Regions from separate parts of the Homo sapiens genome. Here region 1 is linked to region 2. The links are contacts of gene promoters, found by promoter capture Hi-C in blood cells and fetal thymus (Javierre and others, 2016). All regions are on one chromosome and are shown on one strand. The core of a region is centred on a gene start or on the middle of the fragment in contact, and the rest is flanking DNA. Distances in the headings are between cores, read along the strand shown. Region 1 holds the start of DUSP11 (dual specificity phosphatase 11). Region 2 holds the start of EGR4 (early growth response 4).

Region 1 (5,334 bases), core at 1,488-3,987, 490 kb before region 2:
ACTTTCAAAAATCTGCCATTGGCCAGGTGCGGTGGCTCAAGCCTGTAATCCCAGCACTTTCGGAGGTCGAGGAGTGCTGATCATGAGGTCAAGACATCGAGACCATCCTGGCCAACATGGAGAAACCCTGTCTCTACTAAAATACAAAAAATTGGCTGGGAGTCGTGGCATGCACCTGTAGTCCCAGCTACTCAGGAGGTTGAGGCAGGGAGAATTGCTTGAACCCGGGAGGCGGAGGTTGCAGTGAGCTGAGATGGCACCACTGCACTCCAGCCTGGTGGCAGAGTGAGACTGGGTCTCAAAAAAAAAAAAAAAAAGTCTGCAATCATAATTACTTACAGTTTAATCTGGAATTTAGTACTCTATTCTATTTTCAAAGCTGCTATAGGGTATGCTGTCCTTTGTAGTTCCACTTTTAGCAGAATTGAACGTTTTTCTAACGGGTACAGATCTTTATGCTTGAGACTGTGTGGAAACCTTGGACTTGAGCTCCACTCTCAGTTATTTTTTGTATTTGCTAAAACTTAAATACATTCTGTCCACCTCTAGCATGATACCTGGTATGTGATAGGAACCCAATAAAAGTTTGGCTTTGATGGGAGTGTATGTTTCTACATTATTTTTGGAGGGTAATTAGGTAGTATCTTTCCAAATTTTAAGTTTGTATGTGTTTCATTCCAGACATTCTACTTCTAGGAATTTAGATATAGTTGTATATATGTATAAGGATGTTCACATTGCAGCATTGTCTGTAACAAGATTTGAAAAGAACCTGAAAACAACTAAAGGTCCATTAATATTGAACTGGCTAAATACGTTATGGTACTTTTAATTATGTTACTCATAAGCAAGTAAATTGCCTATAGCCATTAAAAATAGAATCTATGTATGCATAAATTGACTGGGATAATCAGTGTTTAAGGTATACTGTAGAATATGTACAGTTACTCCTTTTGTATAAAAATAGAGGATATACATATATGTGAAAGTAAATATGTATACAAAATATGCAAAATGTGAATGTAAGCGCTGGTAAATATCTAGAAGAACACACAAGGAACCGGGGCGTGGGGCGGATCGGGCAGAGGGACTTCCCTGTGCCTCACTGTTTGAATTCTGAAGGGTGCATACACGCCCTTATTGACCTGTGCTACTGGCCTCTGGCTAAAGAGGGCGCTGTAGCCACCAAAGTCCTGTTTACAGATCAGGAGTCTCAGTAAGCCAGCGTGGCTACGCCATCACGACCGGCGGTGGCACATGCGCAATAGCGAGACGCTGGAGCGCGGCGTAGGTGGCTGCCGAGTCTTTTCCTGTTTAGGGTCTTATCCTGGCATTGAGGGCGCCGGACTGGCGCTTTTGGCCGACTTGGCATTGGGTGGGCGGCTTCTTGGGACCCACATGAGCCAGTGGCATCATCCCCGCAGTGGCTGGGGCCGGAGACGCGACTTTTCAGGACGCTCCTCAGCCAAGAAGAAGGGCGGAAACCACATCCCCGAAAGGTAGTATGTCTTGGTCCCTTGGCGTGGCCTTTCCAGCTCGTGGCTTCTGGGTCTGGGCTTCATCGTTTGTGGTCTCTGCCTCTCGCCGTTGCCATCGCAAGCTTGACTTGTCCGCCGCTTGCTTTGAGGCTTTGACCCTCTGCGCCACCCGCTGTAGCTGAAAGGGGCGATGTCTGTGATGTCCTGTGATTTCTCCATATTCTTGTAAAAGGGAGGTTCTGGCCATTGCTCTTAGGTAAAATACGGAAGGATTGCTTTAAGGTGGGACTGTTACTGTTGGGGACACTCCTTAATTCCCAAAATGGAACCTCCTCAATTCCTTGTTACGTTGGCACGGAAAGTGTAATGGTTTGAGTTAGGAACCCAGCAGTAGTAGCGCCCTGAGATCTCACATGGAAAGTTGGTTTGTATTGTTTCCAGAAATCACAAAGAGCATACTTTGTTACTTCCTAACAGGCCTCATTTGAAAGATAACTCCTTTATACGTACAAATGATTAATTTTGAGACTTTGCACGTAGGTGCATTGAACTGTTTTTACTCCTTGAGACCATCCTCCACCATCTCATACCTCAATAAATCCTCTTCATTTTATCTACTATCTTTTGACTGTCACTTTCTGTCAGTACCCTAATACAGGTCTTGCCTGACTTATTGCAGTGGGGTTCTAATTAGTGAATCTCCTGTTTGTTTTCTTCCAATCCGTTTTTTTGTTTTTGTTTTTGGGATGGATTTTTGCTCTTCTCCGCCAGGCTGGAGTGCAATGGTCCAATCTCGGCTCACTGCAACCTCCGCCTCCCGGATTCAAGCGATTCTCCTCCCTCAGCCGCCCAAGTTGCTGGGATTACAGGCGCCCGCCACCACACCCGGCTAATTTTTTTTGTATTTTTAGTAGAGATGGGGTTTCACCATGTGGGTCAGGCTGGTCTCGAACTCCTGACCTCAGGTGATCCACCTGCCTCAGCCTCCCAAATTGCCGGGATTAACAGACGTGAGCCACCGCGCCCGGCCAGTTCCTAGCATTATTAAGTGAAGTTCACAGTCCCTCTTCTAGCAGGTTTTCTCTTAAAATATGAACTTGAAGTTTCCTACTAATTGAACTTTATGGCATCAGTCGTATGAAAACTAAAAGCGTGAAGTGAAATAATTGAATTTAAATTATTTCAGTGAATATGTTTGTATTAATGGCACTTTAGTATCTGGTACTGGGCCAAGTTTAACAGGGATACAGAAGTTCTGGGTATCTCCGGTTTTATATAGGCCTTATTTGAGTTGTACTGTTGTGTTGGCTTGTGTTCGTTTTTATGATGGGGAAACAGGAGAGAAGGACGGTATAGGTCGTTACTTGGTGGGGTTTAATAAGTGGAGTGGCGAAATGCAAAGCAGAGAGGAGAGAGGACATGTTGTGCGGGCTATGATTCCCATTTTCAAAAAGTCTTATTTTGTGCAAGGAAACAAGGCTAACATACAATTTGGCTAACAAAAAATATATCTAATAGGTGGAAAGACTATCTCCCAGTTGGACAGCGGATGCCTGGGACTCGTTTCATTGCTTTCAAAGTTCCTTTGCAAAAGGTAAGCAAAAGTTAATTCAGTATTCTTTCAGGCATCTGAGTTCACCATGCAGAACACTGCTCTCCACTCTATCACATTCCATTTTCTCTTTTTATAGCAAATACTTTGTAATGACCCCTTTACTATCCTGAAATGAAGTTCATAGGTACATACAACCTACTTCATATTTTAAACAAAAATACCAATTAACACCCTAACTATAATATAAAAAATAAAATAAAAGTAATTTATAATAAAATAATATTTATTTCAATATATAAATGTTTGGACATGACTACATTAAAAGACATAGAGTAATAGTTGCCTGCGCCATGAATTCAAGAATTACAAATGTAGACTGATCTAGGTGGGTTGTATTGCTTTAGTGGTAGGAGTTTCTGTAATAGATTTCCAAATATAACAAAGTATAATCTTCATTTGGTTGATAAGGTGATTATTATCCTGGAAAATTCAATATATATTAGTATTGTACAAAAAATACTTTGTGTTTATTTGTGAAATGGAGTTAGGTTCTGAGGCCAAGCTAAATATGAACAGCTTTTTATCTATATTAATCTTGAATAGGACATCCAAAAGCCATTCAGGATGTGGGACACATTTGTAGGACTGTCCTGAATTTGGCAAGTTGTTTAGAATTTGTAACCCTTACCCACTGAATGCCAGTGGGACTCCTTTCCTTCCATGGTCACAATCAGAAATATCCCCCGGATCATCAAGGTCAGGATTTCAGTGGGGAAAATCTGAAGATTGTATTTTTGTTTAAACTAGGAAAGGAATAGGAGGGATAGGAGGGGAAAGCTTTTGACAGCCATAAAAAAGATGAGAAGGTGAAGACAAATAATTGTTTTCTAGATTCCATGTCTTTCTTATTAGACTTCCCCAGCATAGCTCAGATTAGTATCAGGAGAAGCCTACTTGAAACGTTTTGGGAATTTACTTAATTTGTGACTTATAGATCAGATTTCCTTTTTCAACTGCTGTGTCAGCTTCTCTGCATGTCTGGGCTTAAAAATGAGTCATTTCAGGCCAGGCCTGTTGGATCATGTTTGTAATCCAGTACTTTGGGAGGCAAGGTGGGTGTATCGCTTGAGTCCAGGAGTTTTAGACCAGCCTGGGCAACACTGAAACCGTGTCTCTACAAAAAATACAAAAATTAACCAGGCGCGGTGGCGTGTGCTTGTAGTCTCAGCTGCTCAGGAGGCTGAAGTGGGAGGATCGATTGAACCCAGGAGGTCAAGGCTGCAGTGAGCCATGATCATGCCACTGTACTCCAGCCTGGGCAACAGAGCAAGACCCTGTCTCCAAAAAGAAGGTGTTGGAGACACAGGGAATTTTTAGGGAAGTGAAACTATTCTGTGTGATACTCTAAGGGTGGATACATGTTATATATTGATCAAAACCTATAAAAGGGCTTCACGTATATTAACACATTTCACAACAATCCTGTGCTGATGAAGTAGCAGTAGTACTAATATCTCTTACTGAGTGCTTATTCTGCACTAAGCTCAGAGAATAGATGGTTACATCTAATAAATAATTTTGTAGATAATCAAACAGGCTCAGAAAAGGAAGAATCAAAACTTGAACTTAGTTCTTTCTCTCATTTTTTTTGTGGCAAAATATATATAACATAATATGTACATACAATGCATAACATAGAATGAATCACGCATACCTAACCTCTAGACTTTGGTGATAACGATGTGTCAGAGTTGGTTCTTCATTTGTAACAAATGGACCACACTGGTATGGAATGTGGATAGTGGGGGAGTCTGGGTGGGTTGGGGAAGGCAAAGTACATGTGGGAACTATCTGTCCTTTTGGCTCAGTTTTGCTGTGAACCTAAAACTGCTCTGAAAACTAGTCTATTTTTTTTTTTTTTTTTTTGAGATGGTGTCTCGCTTGTCGCCCAGGCTGGAGTGCAGTGGTGTGATCTTGGTTCACTGCAAGCTCTGCCTCCTGGGTTCACGCCATTCTCCTGCCTCTGCCTCCTGAGTAGCTGGAACTACCGGCGCCTGCCACCACGCCTGGCTAATTTTTTTGTGTTTTTAGTAGAGATGGGGTTTCACCGTGTTAGCCAGGATGGTCTCGATCTCCTGACCTCGTGATCCTCCTGCCTCGGCCTCCCAAAGTGCTGGGATTACAGGCTTGAGCCACCGCACCCAGCCAAACTAGTCTATTTTTTAAAAAGTACATTGCTGGCACCTGAGTAGCCAGACAGATTGAAGGAACAGAGCATAAAGTTCAAAAATAAGCCACATA
Region 2 (5,082 bases), core at 1,000-3,499:
ATGCATTTGGATTAGAATCAAACCCTGGATCTGAAATAGAGTATAAGGAAAATCGTGCTTGGTGTGTCCAATCTTTACAGACATCTGCTGGGTTTCTGCATTTCCTACATGCTCATATATGTGCTACTAACACAGAACCATAGGTGTAGCCATTTAGTAAGACACACTGCAAGTGCATGACCCTGTGAGAACCTTTATATGATTTGTGGACTTCAGGAGAAGATGCATACAAGTGTGTCAGCATATGTTTTGCAGGTGATTGTGTGAAGGGACATATTCTGTGAAAACACTTAATAAGGTCACTGTGGGATGAGGAGTGGGCACCTAGTGCTGGAGATGGGGCTCAGGGTCCCAGCAGACATAAAACCAAAGTCTACCTTCTGGCCTGTAATAGGCACTTAAGAAATGAATACTGAATGAATGAACATTGAGAAACTGAATGGATGTTTGGATAATGGACATAGGGTGAAAGGACTGAGAATGTGGTGGGGTTTGGGCATTCTTGGGCTCTCTCTCTCTCTCTTGAAAAAGAGGGTACAGGGGTGGAAGAGAGGCTGGGAGCTATACTGCCCATGATGCTGAGTCCACCACCCCCAAAGGGCTTTGTTTCTATTTCAAAAAAGGAGAGAAGGAAGGAGGAGCCCTAAACCTGCCCACCTTACCCTCCAGCACACAGAGTCTCAGGAATTGATGCTCTTCATAAAGAAGAACATGCTATTCCATGTATTTATTTAATCCTTCCCCCCCATGTATTTATTTAATTTGGTTCCAGAAAGGAGTTAAGTGAGCTATAATACAAAATAAAATAAACATTTTAAAAAGAATGAGAGAATGAGACAGAGGGAAAACCACAGCAGAAGAGAGATGAGACTAGGAGAGTAGGCAAGCTTCTTTGCTGGAGTTGGCTCTGATGCTTCTGCAGCCAAGATTCACAGCCTCCTTAAGGCTAGGATTTTTTTTTTTTTTCTCAAAAGAAGCCCAATTATTTCAAGTACTGATTCCAGGGAGATATTTCCCACGGATTCCCTGTGTGTTGCTGGGATCAACATCCTTAGAGCGAAAGCCATTTGTATGAAGGCAGAAAAAATGTTCTGCAGAAGCATCTCATACCCTGTGGGTGAGGGAGGAGTGAGCAGGAATTGGCCCTACTTTTCTGGAAGACAATTTGCCAGTTGTCTATCAAAATTTTACATATACTTTGGCACACAATTACACTCGTTGGAATTTATCTCACAGACACATTCACATTTATATAGTCAAGGATGTTGACTCCAACAACATTGGTATAAGTAAAAAGTTGGAAACTGCCTACATGCTCATGGATAGGGGACAAATCGACTAACTCAAGGTCCTCCCTTACAATGGAGTACTATACAGCCTTGAAAAAGAATGACAAGATCTTTATGTCAGGACATGGCACAATCTCTAAGTTATTTCAAGTGAAAAAATAATAATAATAATAATATTGCAGAACAATGTGTATGGTTGGATATACATAAAATTCTTCTGAAAGAATACCCAAGAAACTTAAATGTGGCTACCTCAGGAGCTAGGAATGAAGGTAGGTGGAGAGGAGGGACTTTTACTTTTCAATTTAGAATATACCCTGTTGTGCTAGTTGACTTTCCTCCTACTGTTAACAAGTATTACAGTCCTTTTTAATTTAAATTATTTTTCCTAGCACAAATTTAAAAAAAAAAAACTTAAAATGGAAAAACACACAGGCGTGAGCAAAAGAAATGAATGGCAATAATCTCTGTGGTTTACTGAGTGCGCCTGGACATTTATGTGCTCTCAGTTTCTCTCCACAGGAAATGCACAGGTGAGAAACTGACGTTAAGGGGGACTGAGTGTCAAGCTAGTTAGTGGCAGAGGGCAGATTCAAACCCAACACGGTCCTCCCCTGCTGCCCCTCGGCCTCTGCCTCCAGGTGGGAAGCGCATCTACCGGACGGTCGGCCCGGTGAGGCGCAGCGCCCCAGACTGGCGCATCCGCGGCCCCAGCGCTCCACGCCTGGGGAGCGCGCGCGCACGCAGCGGCGCGAGCCTGGCGGCGGCGGCGACAACAACAACGTCACAGCTCGAGCTTTCCTTTTCGGGAGTCCCCGGCACACATCCTGTGTCCATGTTTGGGCATTTACGTCACGGCGGCAGGGCCGGGGCCTCCCAAAATGGCAGTGGCCCGGGGAGTCGGAAGCCCGGAGCCAGCGCCGCCGCAGCTATATAAGTGGGGGGGCTGTGGGCTGGGGGAGCCCGGCAGCGCTTTGGAGAGGCGAGGAGCCGCCGCCCGAGGCCGGTGCGGGCGAGCGAGGGCGCCGCGGCTCCCCGACTCCTTTCCCAGAGGTGAGTGCCCGAAGCCAGGAGCCCGGGCGCCTAGGTCTGTGCGCTGCGGGGAACCCCTACCGCCAGCCTCCCCGCCACCCGCGCGCCCCCAAGCCCAGCGGGCGAGGCCCCGGGCGCCCCACAGCCGGCGCCGCGCCATGCTCCACCTTAGCGAGTTTTCCGAACCCGACGCGCTCCTCGTCAAGTCCACTGAAGGCTGTTGCGCCGAACCCAGCGCTGAATTGCCCCGGCTGCCTGCCAGGGACGCTCCCGCGGCCACCGGCTACCCTGGAGGTAAGGAGGGCGAGCAGGGGTGCTCAGACGACGACGGCGCAGCGCGGGGGCGCACCATACCTGAGAACCAGGAGGGACTGGGACATTGGAGCTATGAGAATAGGGGCGATGGGAAGCTTAGGAGTCCTGGGGTGCGCACCCCCATTCCCACCCACACTGGGCCGCCAGCGCCTCCGCAGGAACCTGTGCGGTTATCGGAGCGCCCTTTTGCCTGTGCACGTGTGTTTTGCGTGTGCATGTTTCTATGTGCTCCTTGGGACGTATGCGGGCCCCTGCTGAATCAGAATGTGCAAAAGGCACTTTGTGTATATCCGTGGGCACCAAGAGTTTTGTAGGTAGGGGCTGTGGACTCAGGTGCACCCTTTGATGTGCCCAGAGCTGATTCCTGCTCCCTCCTCAGCAGGCGACTTCTTGAGCTGGGCTTTGAACAGCTGCGGCGCAAGTGGGGACTTAGCCGACTCCTGCTTCCTGGAGGGGCCTGCGCCCACACCCCCTCCCGGCCTCAGCTACAGCGGTAGCTTCTTCATTCAGGCAGTGCCCGAACACCCGCACGACCCGGAGGCACTCTTCAACCTCATGTCGGGCATCTTAGGCCTGGCACCCTTCCCCGGTCCAGAGGCAGCAGCGTCCAGATCCCCGCTGGATGCCCCTTTTCCTGCGGGGTCCGATGCCTTGCTGCCGGGTCCGCCGGACCTTTACTCCCCGGATCTGGGCGCTGCCCCTTTCCCAGAGGCGTTCTGGGAGGCCTCGCCTTGCGCGGGTGCCCCCTCGCAGTGCCTGTATGAGCCTCAGCTCTCCCCGCCCGACGTCAAGCCCGGCCTCCGGGCGCCTCCCGCCTCGCCAGCGCTGGACGCTGTCTCTGCCTTCAAGGGTCCCTACGCGCCCTGGGAGCTGCTTTCTGTGGGGGCCCCAGGGAACTGTGGGTCACAGGGAGACTACCAGGCCGCCCCGGAGGCTCGTTTTCCCGTAATAGGGACCAAGATTGAGGACTTGCTGTCCATCAGCTGCCCTGCGGAACTGCCGGCCGTCCCAGCCAACAGACTCTATCCCAGCGGGGCCTATGACGCTTTCCCGCTGGCCCCGGGTGACTTAGGGGAGGGGGCTGAGGGCCTCCCTGGGCTCCTGACCCCTCCTAGTGGGGAGGGAGGGAGTAGCGGCGACGGCGGAGAGTTTCTGGCCAGTACGCAGCCTCAGCTTTCCCCGCTGGGCCTTCGCAGCGCCGCCGCGGCGGACTTCCCTAAACCTCTGGTGGCGGACATCCCTGGAAGCAGTGGCGTGGCTGCACCACCCGTGCCGCCGCCGCCGCCCACCCCTTTCCCCCAGGCCAAGGCGCGACGCAAGGGGCGCCGCGGCGGCAAATGCAGCACGCGCTGCTTCTGCCCGCGGCCGCACGCCAAGGCCTTCGCTTGCCCGGTGGAGAGTTGTGTGCGGAGCTTTGCGCGCTCCGACGAGCTCAATCGCCACCTGCGCATCCACACGGGCCACAAACCCTTCCAGTGCCGCATCTGCCTCCGCAACTTCAGCCGCAGCGACCACCTCACCACGCACGTGCGCACCCACACCGGCGAGAAGCCTTTTGCTTGCGACGTGTGCGGCCGCCGCTTCGCGCGCAGCGATGAGAAGAAACGGCACAGCAAGGTGCACCTCAAGCAGAAGGCGCGCGCCGAGGAGCGGCTCAAGGGCCTCGGCTTTTACTCGCTGGGCCTCTCCTTCGCTTCTCTCTGAGCAAGAGATGGGTTTATGGGTTGGGGCGCCGCCGTTCGGCGCGCACGAGTTCCGGGCCGTTCCCCTCCCCGCTCTTCTTCCAACTCCTCCTCGCACGCCCGAGGGCCGGCCTCCGGTCCCGCTTCCAGTTTCCTTGAAGCGCCCGCCGCACACGCCCTATTCAGCACCAGCTCCGCGGACAGTTCCCGCGGTCCAGGCGCTGTCACCCTTGTCAGCCGCGCTTTGGGGGAAGTCTTCTGAGACCACCCAGTGAATAGGCACTACCCTGGGATTCAAGACAGTCTTTTGTAACTGGCACACGCCCCACGCCTTCCTCTATAACCCCCAGAGACAGGCTGGGGCAGCGCCAAGGCGGTCTCGCGCGGGACTTTGTACAGCAGTGTCTTATCCAGCAGCCATTGGATGTAACGTTTTGCTTTGGGTTTTTTTTCCTTTTGTTGTTGTTAATTTTTGTAAAGCAGACGCTACTCTCAAGCAGTTGACAAAACTGTTTATTTTTGCAATTAAAATTATTGTGCTAAAAGCTTACTGAATCTGCCATGTAAGCTCCTGACCCTTCCCCTTAGCTTCTCCCCCAGGACCATATGTGCCAGAAGATAAAGGAGATCCCCACGCTCATGGGATACAGACCCTGAACATATTACACACCCACTGTCAGGCACACCTGCCAGGAACTGCGGCACAGAGTAGGCATTCAGTAAATGTGTGTTGGGTTAATGAACGAATTTAATCACAGCTCACC

What was found. The method cuts DNA at HindIII sites, captures the fragments that hold promoters and counts their contacts. A CHiCAGO score of 5 or more calls a contact.
Region 1: a fragment that was not itself captured here is called in contact with the fragment with the promoter of EGR4 in region 2 in 1 of 17 cell types (fetal thymus); the score reaches 5.4 in fetal thymus.

What each region holds. Positions count from the first base shown.
Region 1 is chr2:73,776,039-73,781,372 of GRCh38, reverse strand. DUSP11 (dual specificity phosphatase 11) reads left to right here and starts at 1,270. Exons shown (of 9, transcript NM_003584.3): 1 at 1,270-1,499; 2 at 2,997-3,072. The coding sequence starts at 1,399. RefSeq lists enhancers at 1,299-1,368, 1,449-1,498, 1,629-1,778. The HindIII fragment of the contact is 2,270 bases long and covers 1,603-3,872 here.
Region 2 is chr2:73,290,715-73,295,796 of GRCh38, reverse strand. It overlaps EGR4 (early growth response 4), which reads left to right and starts at 2,249. Exons shown (of 2, transcript NM_001965.4): 1 at 2,249-2,615; 2 at 3,016-4,868. The coding sequence starts at 2,480. The coding sequence ends at 4,340. RefSeq lists a silencer at 1,887-1,966 and an enhancer at 3,963-4,658. The HindIII fragment of the contact is 1,844 bases long and covers 890-2,733 here.